Linked DNA regions of Homo sapiens: region 2 is linked to region 1. Evidence: promoter capture Hi-C in 16 types of primary human blood cells and fetal thymus (Javierre and others, 2016). All regions are on one chromosome and are shown on one strand. Each heading gives the region's core, a stretch centred on a gene start or on the middle of the fragment in contact. The rest is flanking DNA. Distances are from core to core; before and after follow the strand shown. Region 1 holds the start of MGAM2 (maltase-glucoamylase 2 (putative)). Region 2 holds the start of PRSS37 (serine protease 37).

Region 1 (6,304 bases), core at 3,739-6,238:
AATTAACTCTAGCTTTACATCCAACACCTGTAGAGCTCTTGCCTTTTTTGCATGTAGAGGAACTGAGGATTGTCCAAGGAAAAGTATATCAGACATGAAGAACTGAAGGGAAAATGTTGTGGAATAACACACAGAAGAGAGATGAGGGGCTGAGGTAGCTCACAAAACCCTTTAGATTTCACTTTGATCTTCACATCCACCTAATGTAGTAGACAGGAAGGTATGCTCAGGGAGAGAGAAAGTAGCAAAACTGGAATCCAAGTCTTCTTCTTTCAACTGCCCTGGACATGATGCTGAAGTCACTGTTGAGACTGTTTAAACGTCACTGACACTCTCAAGGATCTGGTAACAAAAATGATCCTGATACCCAGCATAAGTCTTGCTGGGAGGTTCACAGCAAACAACTCACATAAATTTCGTGGCTCCCAGTAACCCCGAAGATCATTTATTGACCCAAGATTTAAAATATTTTCTATATTGGAGGATGTACTGAACTGGGAATCAAAGGGGTTGAATTCTTGTCCTGATTTTCTTACTAACAGATGGGCTATTTACCTATTTGGACCTGTATTTCTTCATCTACAAAAATGACATCAGACACTGGATGTGTTCTCATTTTTCTGCTCTAATTATAGTAAATCTAACATTATTACATGTCTACAGATCCATGACAGCCCTCAGCTGCAATGCCTTCTTCGCCATTCCATCTCCATCATCCTCAAATGTTTGCTAGCCCCTGGAATTTATCATCCCCAGAACTGTTACACTTTTGAAATTGTAAATCCATATGCAAATGAGCAATGTCCTTTTACTGTCTCATTGTCTGACTTTATTTTATTTATTTATTTATTTATATATTTTGAGATGGAGTTTCACTCTTGTTGCCCAGCTGGAGTGCAATGGCACGATCTCGCCTCACCGAAACATCTGCCTCCTGGGTTCACCCAATTCTCCTGCCTCAGCCTCCCGAGTAGCTGGGATTACAGGCATGCGTCACCATGCCCTGCTAATTTTGTATCTTTAGTAGAGACAAGGTTTCTTCATGTTGGTCAGGCTGGTCTCGAACTCCTGATCTCAGCTGATCTGCCCACCTTGGCCTCCCAAAGTGCTGGGATTACAGGCATGAGCCACAGCACCCAGCCTGCCTTACTTTATTTTAAAAAAGTATCTTATCACATCAAGGCAGCTGTTATCTTTCCATTTCCTTTTAATCTCTTAGCCCTTCCTAGCTGTTAACCCTAACTGACCTAGGCCTCAGTATTGATTATTTAACTTGCCATTGCTCTCATCTTCCTCGCTCTCTATCTGCTAACAGAATCTGCAGGATGAAACTATCCATCCAAACATCTGCCTTCTGTGCTGCCGCACGTAACTCAAGGGAGATGCCACCGAGGCTCATAATCTCCTAAATAAACTGGGCCTGCAAGCCGACTGATGGTCTTGACAGTGCCTCTCACTTTTCGCAGCAGTAATTTTATTTTTATTTTATTTTATTTTTTTGCAGACGGAGTGTCACCCTGGAGTGCAGTGGCGCAATCTCAACTCACTGCAACCTCCACCTCCCAGGTTCAAGGGATTATCCTGCCTCAGCTTCCTGAGTAGCTGGGACTACAAGTGCATGCCACTACGTGTGGCTAACTTTTTGTATTTTTAGTAGAGATAGGATTTCACCACGTTGGCCAGGCTAGTCTCGAACTCCTGACCTTAAATGATCCACTTACCTCGGCCTCCCAAAGTGCTGGGATTACAGCATGAGCCACCGTGCCTGTAATTTAAAAAATTGTTCCTTCTATCCTTCTTTTCAGGCCTGACTCTATTACCTACACTCTTATTCTCATGCAGTATCATCTCTGATATCACCCAAAAAATAATGATTTTGCAGAAACTATTCTCTCTCTCTGCTTCTCAACCCAAGCGTTTCCACAAAGGTTATTCACATCTAGGTAAATTCTTATTTTTCCCCCTCTATTCTCAATGAAACAGTTTTTCCTCTTCTTGTTTAAGCATAATCCTTGTATCTGTTATCTAGATCTCACAGCTGTTGAATTTCTCAAAAATTTCATTCCACCAATTATCTCTTATTGTCTTGCATTATCAAATTCACTCTCTGAATATCTTTCCTTCATAAATATACCCCAAGTCACCCCAAACTCTGTTAATGACTCTGTGTGCTTCTGCAGGTAGCATAATAACATTCTTTTTCTTTCCAGTGCCAATCTTCCAAAACGATAGTTCCACACTTTCTGTATTCCCTTCCTCATGTGTTATTGGCTTGGCTGTGTTTTCTGCATTCCACTGGAAATGCTCCCACCGAGGTTACTAGTGACATAGTGGCTGAATACAATGGGCGCTGTCTTAATCACTTAACCACTTTCTCCTCCATGAAACTTTCCACATATGGATTCCTTGATAGGAATCTTGGCTTTCCACCTCTATTTCTGGCTTATCTTCAATATTCTTTGTAGTCTCCTATTTCTTTCTTTCTTTCTCTCTTTCTTTCTTTCTTTCTTTCTTTCTTTCTTTCTTTCTTTCTTTCTTTCTTTCTTTCTTTCCTTCTTTCTTTCTTTCTTTTTTTGAGATGGAGTCTCGCTCTGTTGCCCTGGCTGGAGTGCAGTGGCGCGATCTCGGCTCACCGCAACCTCCGCCACCCAGGTTCAAGTGATTCTCCCGCCTCAGCCCCGCGAGTAGCTAGGACTACAGGCACCCGCCATCATGCCCAGCTAATTTTTATATTTTTGTAGAGACAGGGTTTCACCATGTTGGCCAGGTTGGTCTTGAACTCCTAACCTCAGGTGATCCGCCCGCCTTGGCCTCCCAAAATGCTAGGATTACCTGCGTGAGGCACCACGCTCAGCCCTATTTCATTAAATGTTGATGCCCCCCAAATTCTGGTATAGGCTTCTTTTTTAAACTACGCAGACACGTTGGGTAATCTCCACCACTCATGTGACTTTATATGACATGTGATGGCAATCCAACCTGTATTTCTAGCCCAGGGATTTAGATTCATATATTCAACTGCCTATTGGATGTCCCACAGATTCAATAAGATTTAACATGTTTAAACATGAAATCATCTCTCCCCACACCTCACTCCCAGTTCCTGCCAATTTGGCCAAATTATCTGTTCTTCAAATAATTAATAACTTGAGGAATAGAATCACATTATAAAAAAAAAACCTAGGAATCTTTTTTTAATTCCTCTCATTCTGTTAGTTCTCACAGCCAGTTAACAGTTCAGTCAGACTACTTTCCCGGTATCTTTGGGTCATTACCCAAGTGACCAGCACAAACAGGGTCATTTGGATCTCCTATATTCAAGCCTTTAATGGATCTCTGAATAAACCAAAAACCCTTTAGCTTTGTGATCAAAGGTCTTCATGGCACGTCCTAACCCCAGCTGCTCAGCGTCTCCTCTCCCCATATTCCCACCATACTAAACCAGCACTTATGCAGCAACAAGCTATTAAATATAAGTCAGCAGGGACAAAGACTGTTCTCTCTCTTATTTTTATGTTGATTTTGCATCTCCTCTTACTTTTCATTTCCCTGCCTCCCTGCTCTTCTCAACTCCTCCCCAATGCCACGACCATTTCTACAAATATTTTTATATAGGTATATAGCTTCAATTTTTAATTACAGTAGCCTTTAGGTTAATGTGTAATAATTCCATAAAAGAAGCACTTTAATATTGAAATAGAGGTAAGGAACTAGGACCTACAGGTAATTTGCCAACAGGCATTTAGGAAGAACCCTTAGCCCTTGGAGACACGAGGTTTGGGATTAAAATTGAGGTTTATTAACTATTCTTTACTATTTACCTAAATTAATCAGTTGTCTCTCTTTTAGTCTAAATTATTTAAAAGATATACTCTAATCCCTATAAAATATATATCATATGACTGTATTCTCATAAAATCCCTGCATTGAAGCTGATCAGACAGATATCATGATTTCCATTTTATAGATGAATATTAAGAAATTTTGTCTAGTCACGGTTAGTGGTGGAACTGAGACAAACACCGAGAGCCGCTACTTTTTAAAATAGTACTTGAATACTCTCTCGACAATGTATCCTAGGCTGCAGAGCTTAAAGACTTAGAGGATCGGTCTCCAATGGTGGAATTTCAGGTAGAGAAAGAAGTAGGAAGGACCTACCCTAAGAGTGCTATGGTATCAAACTTCGTTTCTTATACATACAGCCCACAACTCAATACCACAGCAAAGGCATTATTCATCAATTGGTCTCTTTCTGCAAGTATTATTTCTCTCCACAGGGAGACTTTTTTCTTTCTAGCTTCTAAAAATCAGCAGCAGGGACCTACTCCACAGCTCCTCAATCCTCCTGAGGGAGCAGGTTCAGCACCTTAGCTCAGGAAGTACAGGAACGCTCTGGGAATAACCCTGGGTATTTTCCTGCCTTAGGAGCTATTGTCATTCAGGCAGAGGACAGGATGGGGATTCCTAAAGGTAGAAATTCTTGCCTACTTAGAAACCCTTCCTGCCCAAAGCTGGGAGGAATTCACCTTCCTCCAAATCCATGCCATCTTGAGATAGTTTCCAGAAGGATCCCATCTGTTTCCTCTGTCCTTAATTTCTCCCAGTGAGAGAGGAGGATCTCACACCAGACCTCCCCCAACCTGTCCTCCAAACACTGACACCACACACACACACACACACACACACACACACACACACACACACACAGTCTCTCCTCTCCATCAACTATCTCATCCTCACTCCTCATATTTTATGGAAAAGGAAGAAAATATTAAGTCCAGAAGGAAAACATGGGCATCCAGATCACTTAACAGAGCAGCAGACAGAAAATCACACAAAAAGAAAGGGACCTTCCTGCCCTTGTTCAAAGCCCTGCTTGCATGGAGAAGCGTACTCACCGCATCACCTTGTTTTTTTCTATGCTGTATCTCTCCCTCAGCAATTCATAGGGAGCACTGAGCAAAGGTAACTGGGCTGAGGTAGCCAGCTTCTGCCACAATTAATTTATTGCCTTATAAAGTTGACAGCAACTGGAGGAGGGGAGTGCATATTCCAATAGGTCATAAAAGAACGCTTGTTCTCCATGTGACACAGAATGAAAGCTCCTTTTGTTAATAAAAGGGGAAGGTGGTTTTTTTTCTACTCATTGTCCCTCTTCTGTATCCCTGTTCATATCTGATTACTTGTCACGTTATGTTTCCTCATCTATACATGTAGCCTAAAGGGCTCAAGAGCTAGGGTCTTGTCTATCTTCTTCACTGTTGTATCTCCTGTGCTTAGCACTCTGCCCAATATCCATAGTTCTTTTTAAATATATAGCTATTTATTTAATAAGTAAGTGAAAGAAGGATTAGCTCTTAGTTCATCACTTTGTTCTTTTCTCCATTTTCATCCTCCAGAGTTCTCTTGGTATAACTCAGCTTTTCATTAATTCAAATGATCCTTTCCACCAATTATTCTAAATAGTGAAGTACCATTAAAGTAGCAATTATACAAACCCGTCCAGGTGCAGTGGCTCACACCTGTAATCCCAGCACGTTGGGAGGCCGAGGTGGGCGGATCACCTGAGGTCAGGAGTTTGAGACCAGCCTGGCCAACGTGGTGAAACCCCATCTGCACAGCCAGGCATGGTGGCAGGCGGCTGTAATCCCAGCTACCCAGGAGGCTGAGGCAGGAGAATCGCTTGAACTCAGGAGGTGGAGCTGGCAGTGAGTTGAGATTGCCCTATTGCACTCCAGCCTGGACAACGAGAGCAAAACTCCATCTCAAAAAAAATAAAAGAGAAAGAATGTATACAAACCTAAAGTGGGAAGATGCCTCTAGTGGACATTTGTCATGTTCTTCGATGGCTCAGCATCTTTCAAAACCTCTTGCTAAGATGGGGGAGGTGGGGAGGGAGACAAAGGTAGTAACACTACCTATTGGGTACTATACTCACTACCTAGGTGACAGGTTCAATCACACCCCAAACCTCAGCATCACACAATATACCCTTGAAATGAACCTGTATATGCACCCTGAATCTTAGACCCTGAATCTAAAATAAAAGTTGAAAAAAATTTAAAAACGGAGGATCTTTCTTTAAAAAGAAAAAGAAAACCTCTTACTTAAATCAACTTAAGGACTTTTTCTCCAAATTCTGCCTCCCCAAAGAAACAGCTAGAAATTCTCTTTCACAGCCTTTCTTTCATCCAAGGTAGAGGCAAGTGGCTGGAGCTTTGTGAATGAGATATTCCTGTGAGTGACTTACATCCAGAAGAAGGTGTAGATAAGGAGGTACCATGTAAAATCCAGGATGTTGGAA
Region 2 (6,586 bases), core at 2,003-4,502, 270 kb after region 1:
CATGCAACCATGCTGTGACAGATGGTGGAGCTGTGCAGGTACCCTTGTGTTAGCACCTGGAAAGTCCATTGTTGGCCCTCCTAAGTGAAGACAAACTGACCTTGTGAATCTTCTGCTAAAGGGATACTGGAAAAGCCATTAGACAAGTCAGTCACAGGATGGACATTTCCCAGCTTGAGGACCACTTGTTCTAGTAGTTCAGCAGCTGCATATACAGGGAGCAACACTTTGTTTAGCTCATGGTAGCCTGCCAACATTTTGCAGGTGCCATCTGGTGTCTTCACAGGCTACCCAGGGCTGTTACAGGGGCTCTGGGCCAGCCTATTTGTACCTTATGGAATGCCTAAATTGTTCTGATGATTTCAGAGTGTGCCCCTGGCAGGCAGTATTGTTTTACATTCACTGCCTGCCTGTGCTGGGACAAGTGATTACTTTCTGAATTTAGTCCTTGCTCTTATCCAGCCCACTGAGATCCACCAATGCTTCCCCCATATCATAGATTCCATTTTCCACTAAATGGCAAAAGAACTGCAACCAATGTCTCATATCATAACCCTTTCTAAACTGGAAATGACCCAGACATTCAATGAGTAGCTAAAATAATTTTAAGATTTTAAACTACACAAAAAGTTTTACCTATGTTTATCTCATTTACATTTACTGAATTTATTCATTTTTAGTGGTTTATCTGGATTACTCATGAGAACGAAAGCTCATTAGACTTATTAGACAAAGCTAATAATCATTACGAGTTATTTCCCTGTTAACCATTTTAATGGCTTATAAATATCAGATGTTCGTCTAATCAAGAAACTTAAAGACATAAGCATTTTTACCAATAACTCAGAAAATTCAGCTGTTTTAATTAAACTGACAATATCAAATTAATCTTGCTTATCAAAAAAATCACACAAAGATCATTCTGTTTTGGGTGGATTTATAGTCTTAGAACCTTCATGTCAGAAACCTGACACCTTAAACTATCTAGGAGGGGCAAATATACAACTTATCTAATCAAGAAACTCAGACAAAAATGTATGCTGACACTTTTGAAGACATTTCTACTTTTATTTTATCAAAAATTTTGAAGCCAGCTTATTCACCAAAGATTATTGAATTCACGTGAACCTGAAGAGCATCTGGACTTATTTAATTTATGAGTACGTATTTACTTATAAGCTATTCGGTACCATGCTAGATATAACACATAGCATAATACATGCACATACACATAACACATTTAAACATGTTTATACATATACATGCAAGATCCGATAGCTTTTACCAATAGCTTTTGGAATTCTAGCTTCACAAACTCATTACTATATAAAAGACAGCTGGATCCAGATTATTTTTGATAAAATTGGGACCTGTTCACATGGCTAAACTTTATTTGCCCCAATAGGTAACCCAAGGAAAGCAGTGGATCAATAATTTGGGTAAAGCAGTTTCTATGGCAGTTTGATTTTTAAAAACCTCCTTTATCCATTTTTTTTCAGTTCCAAATGAGTTTAATTCTTTACATTTTAGCTAGAACTGGCTGAACCATATGAGGAAAAAAAAAATCTCAAATTGACCTTGAATTAGTGAGTTTTATCTCAATACCAGTAACTTATTAACAGTAGATTCAAAGCAGGCAGAAAAGGAAAGAGAAATAGAGAGCTTTAGAAGACTCTACTTAACTCTATAGTTGTAGATTAAACATTTGAGCTCTGAATTTTTCTTGTTGTAATTTGCCCGTCAGTTTTAAAATGTACACAAGAAAGGGCCATAATATGTAACCAGCTGGAGGATTAGAAAACCATGCCTTTTAGCTTCTGCTGGAGTTTCTACCCTTTCTCCCTTTCCTGCTCTAATGATTTGTGATTAGCCAGCCTTATTGCAATAACACCACATTTACTATCATTATCATACTTTAATATCTTGGCTTCTTGGCAATAGGTATTCAGTCCTTGCCCATGTTTTCCAAGCATCCCTGTACTCATGCAGTGGCCCACAAAAGTTGTGCAGTTGGGCAACTCCACTCCACATGGACATTGCCGACTGCCCAGGGATTCCCCACCATAGACACTCATTCCTGGCTCGAAGTTTGGTCTCTCTGACCCCATTTGTGATGCCAATTGTAACAAGAAAAATCCAGAATCATATTTTTAAAAAAACCTTTCCCCCAAACTAGGAGGGAGCCAAGAGACCAAAGAATGACTCAGACAAGTCCAGCTTGGCCAGTGGATAAGTTTATTAGGACTTACATATGAGACACTCCTAGATAGCAGAGGACACCTTTAGAGACCTGCCCTGCTTTCCATCTCTAAGCTGCTTTTAAGCTAATTTTCTGGCTCTTTGCCTACTGTGTGTGCATGATGGGACTGTTTTCCTTGATAGGTTCTCAGGTATTCTCTGGGATGTTTGGGTACTCAAGGACACCTGCTCCTCAGCTGGACACCATGGCGTTGACTCACCACTTGGCCATCAAGGATACCTGCTTCTTGGCTGGGCACCGTGTCCTTGACTCACTACTTAGCCATTAAGGTTCAAGCAGTGGTCATACACCCTTAAGTATCCTGGTGGGGGACCTGCAACCCTACACCAGTGACAAGGCCTATTTCTCATTGTCCACGACATGTGACTTTGGGAAAACTACTTAGATTCTCTCTGCTTCAGTTCTGCCACCCACAGACCAGAAATAGATACCAGACCCAGCCCTATCTCTTCTTTCTAGGGTTGTTGTGACATTTGGAAAGAGATTATGGGTTTAAGAAACTTTAAAGGGTTAGAGTGATACAAAGTGTAGTGAATTTTACATCTCAGACTAACCTGATATAAAATCTCTACTGACAAGTCCGTAAAGATCTTAGCTCAGTGCCTAGGATTCAGTAAATGCTTAGAGGATATCAGCTATTAGTGTTACCGCTCATTTTCTTGTTAGACTATGCTCCCAATTATCCAAGGATGACTTTGGTAGTCTAATATTGGTCTAAGTCTTTAAGTATTAGAGGTACTGCCTTCTGAATTGTCACCAGGCCTAATGTCATCTAGACTGTAAACAATTCCCCAACTATCAAGATAACTGTTCTATGAATGCTTTTCATTTCCATATTTTCTTGGCTCAATGCTGTTGCTCAGGACAAAAAACACCAAGTTGGTGATGATGACTGAGTGATGAAACAGTGATCAGAGGGACATATGAAGCTAGTGTAACAAAGATGGGAGGGGCTGGGGAAAGTATAAGTAACTATTAGGAGGTTCAGAGCAAACCTCAGGACACTTACTCCCTGAGCTAAGGTAAAGAATATTGTCCCTCATAGCCCTGGTCTCAGAAACTCTGTGGGGAAGATAAGTCCTGAGCCTAGAGCTGCCATTTCCACAGACAACTGAACTACCTTCAAACAGATGTGTTTTTAGGGGCAGCAGATAGAAGGAGCTGAATCCAGGAGTTTCCTTCCCTGAAATGCCCCAACAGAGGCACAGTCCTCCACCTTCCCTGGAACAGAGGGCTTTCATCTGTCTCTCTGAAGCCATCTCCCTCCCCTGTTTATGCCCAGAGCTGCTTTCCAATCCCATGGAGTGCCTCCGTATCTAACCATAGCCACTGAGTCTACCAGGTGTTCCTGAGAAGACAACTAAGCCAACCGCTCCACACTCTGCTGATTTTCTTCTACATCTCACAGGGGGAAGAGCTGGATCACCATGAAATATGTCTTCTATTTGGGTGTCCTCGCTGGTATGTACTCAAGACCTTGTACTCTGTCCTGTAAGGCACAGTTTAATGGATGGGGTGAGACAGAGGCAGGATTGCGAAGGGTGCAGAAAAAGAGTCAAAAATAGTGTCATCAGCAGAATTAGGAGTCCTGCCTCTCAGACTCCATCCAAAGGCTCTCCGGATAGGCTGAGCCCACTTTTCTAGTGTTAAGCTATAGGGTGGGTTAAGGCACACATGTGCCTTGGAGAAGGCTTAACAGTGAGTGTCCTCCCACCGACACTAATGCAGAAAACAGAGAAGTAGAAACAAAAGATCAAGTACTAGGACCCTACCTTCTGTAGTCCTTGCCCCACATGGGGTTCTTCTGACAGCAGAATTTGCAGATGAGGCATTTCCCACCATTCTCTGACTGCCTAGGTTGTATCACACATTAGCTGTGTGAGATTAGCCAAGTTAATTAACTCTTCTGTGCTTCAATTTCTTCAAAATGGGGGTATGACTACCCATATTATAGAGCTATTGTGAAGATTAAATAAATCTATGTAAAGCACTTAGAACAATGCCTGCTATAGAGAGCTCAATGTCTCTTGCCCTTGTTTACAGTCTACCCTTTTCTCTTTGGGGTTTCTAACTGTGTGATCACACAGAAGGGTGTGGTGAGGTACAGACCCAGTCTTGGGGAAGGTTAACAGGAGTAGCAAGAGAAGCCAAGACAAGAAGAGGGCTTTATTTCTGATACTAGAATCAGCCTTCCTCCCCTTTATTCTCTAGGGTATGTTTTAAATAATTCATTTATAAAAACAATATATGTTCATATTACAAAATTTAGACATTTTTAAAGTAGAAAAATAAGCATCATTCATAATCCCACCTCTTAGTCAACACATGCTAACACTTTGAGTTTACTCTCAGAATCTATATATTTTTTGCATTTAAATGTTTTTATTTATTTGTTTTTAGACAAATAGATTATATCCACAATTTTCTTGTTCTTTTTAACTTAAATAAGCATTAATATTCTTTTGCTGTTTAATATTCTAATTAGTTTAATTTTTATTATATATGATGTTCCACTTTTTGATGTGCTTCAATGTCCAACATTACTATGTCAGATATTTATGTTTCCAGTGTTCAGCTGTTATAGCTAACATGAGCATACTTGTTTGTAATCCTTGTCTATATCTGATTTTTTTCTTTAGAATGGATTCTTGGGGTTGGAATGATTAGGTCACAGGTTATAAACAATTTATGATTCTTGATGCCTGTTTCTAAATTGCTTTTCAAGAAGATGGAATCAATTTACTAGCAGTGATGAGTGTCTCTCATTATACTCTCTTAGATTGAATATTATCAATATTAAACAAAATTATTATAAATATAAGATAAAATGGCATATCGTTTTAATTTACATTTTTATTAGAAAAACATGTCAAATACGTTAACACTTCTTGGCCAACTGATAACTGTTTAAGAATCATCCAGATTCCTTTTCAAGTAAGAGACTGTTACCTTATTTTTATAATATTTATGTATTAAGAATGTTCATTATTTTCTCAGGGACATTTTTCTTTGCTGACTCATCTGTTCAGAAAGAAGACCCTGCTCCCTATTTGGTGTACCTCAAGTCTCACTTCAACCCCTGTGTGGGCGTCCTCATCAAACCCAGCTGGGTGCTGGCCCCAGCTCACTGCTATTTACCGTTGAGTATTTGGGCATCCCCATCCCCAAAACAGCTACTGTTCATTCTAGATCAGTGGTTCTCATATAAGGGTAACTTCTCTACAGGGTACACTTGGCAATGTCTGAAGATATTTTTGGTTGTCACAACCAGGGGGCAGTGCTATTGGCATCTAATGGGGAGAGGCTAGAGCAAAGATGCTGTTTAACATCCTACAATTCACAGCACAGTCCCCACAATAAAGATTTGTCCAGCCCAGAACAGCAATAGTGCCACTGTTGAGGAACCCTGTGTTACATGTTATGCCTCCTCAGACTCTCATAAGTTTTTTTCTTTTTTTTTTTTTACTGGCAGTATGAATGCATTTTATCACTTAAAGATCTAGCAGGTAACTGATGATGCACTCAAATTGGGTCAATTGAGGTGAGTTTTAAGAAGGAACCAATTGCAAAGGTATGGAGACATTAAAGGGACAATATTAAGAATAGTTCCATACCACCAGGGTTTGTATTAAGAAAATGCAGTTACCACCTCTAGGCCTAAAAAGGCAAGAGGAGAAGATAATTTCAAAGGAGGCAAGGAGAGATAGAGAAAAAGCGAGACCTGTGTGAGGAGACAGCCTGATAAGGATTGTAACCCCTAGTCAAGGAGCACAGCCACTCTGTGACAAAACTGCAGGGAGGGACCTGGGAGGATAAGTACTCCAATCTCACTCTTCTTCCTCCAGTTACTTTCTGGTGCTTCCTATTGGCCAATAGAAGGAAGCCAGAGGACAAGAGAGCCCACTGATTAAATCCATATATGTCCCCTTCCAAAGGTGCAGAGCAGAATGGAATAGGACTGTTAGTGCATCAGCTAGGGAACCAAACAGGAGACACCCAGAACTAGGTTATTTATTCTCTGGTCTCCACCAAAATGGACATTGTTCAGTTAGATAGGCGAGAAAATTACATTTCCTTGACATGCATCCTCTTCCTCTCCACTACATTAAAGAACACAACATTAAAATGTAGTGAAGGGCTCCACTACTTACTATATCACCCTGAGTGAATTACTCCTATGTGCCCCCATTAATTCATGTGCTAAATGGGGATAAAAATGGAATCCACTGCATAGACTTGTTGTGAGTTAAATGACATAATCCAGAAAAAGCACTTGGTACAGTTCCTGGCACTTTGTAACATTCAGTATCTTAGCAATGATGATGA

Evidence for each region. Contacts are between HindIII fragments. The CHiCAGO score rates a contact against its expected background, and 5 or more counts as called.
Region 2: a contact is called between the fragment with the promoter of PRSS37 here and the fragment with the promoter of MGAM2 in region 1, in 2 of 17 cell types (monocytes and M0 macrophages). The highest score is 13.6, in monocytes.

The regions. Positions count from the first base shown.
Region 1 is chr7:142,110,402-142,116,705 of GRCh38, reverse strand. MGAM2 (maltase-glucoamylase 2 (putative)) reads right to left here and starts at 4,988. Exons shown (of 48, transcript NM_001293626.2): 1 at 4,899-4,988. The HindIII fragment of the contact is 17,675 bases long and covers 1-6,304 here.
Region 2 is chr7:141,838,151-141,844,736 of GRCh38, reverse strand. PRSS37 (serine protease 37) reads left to right here and starts at 3,252. Exons shown (of 5, transcript NM_001008270.3): 1 at 3,252-3,721; 2 at 5,258-5,399. The coding sequence starts at 3,688. The HindIII fragment of the contact is 13,045 bases long and covers 1-6,586 here.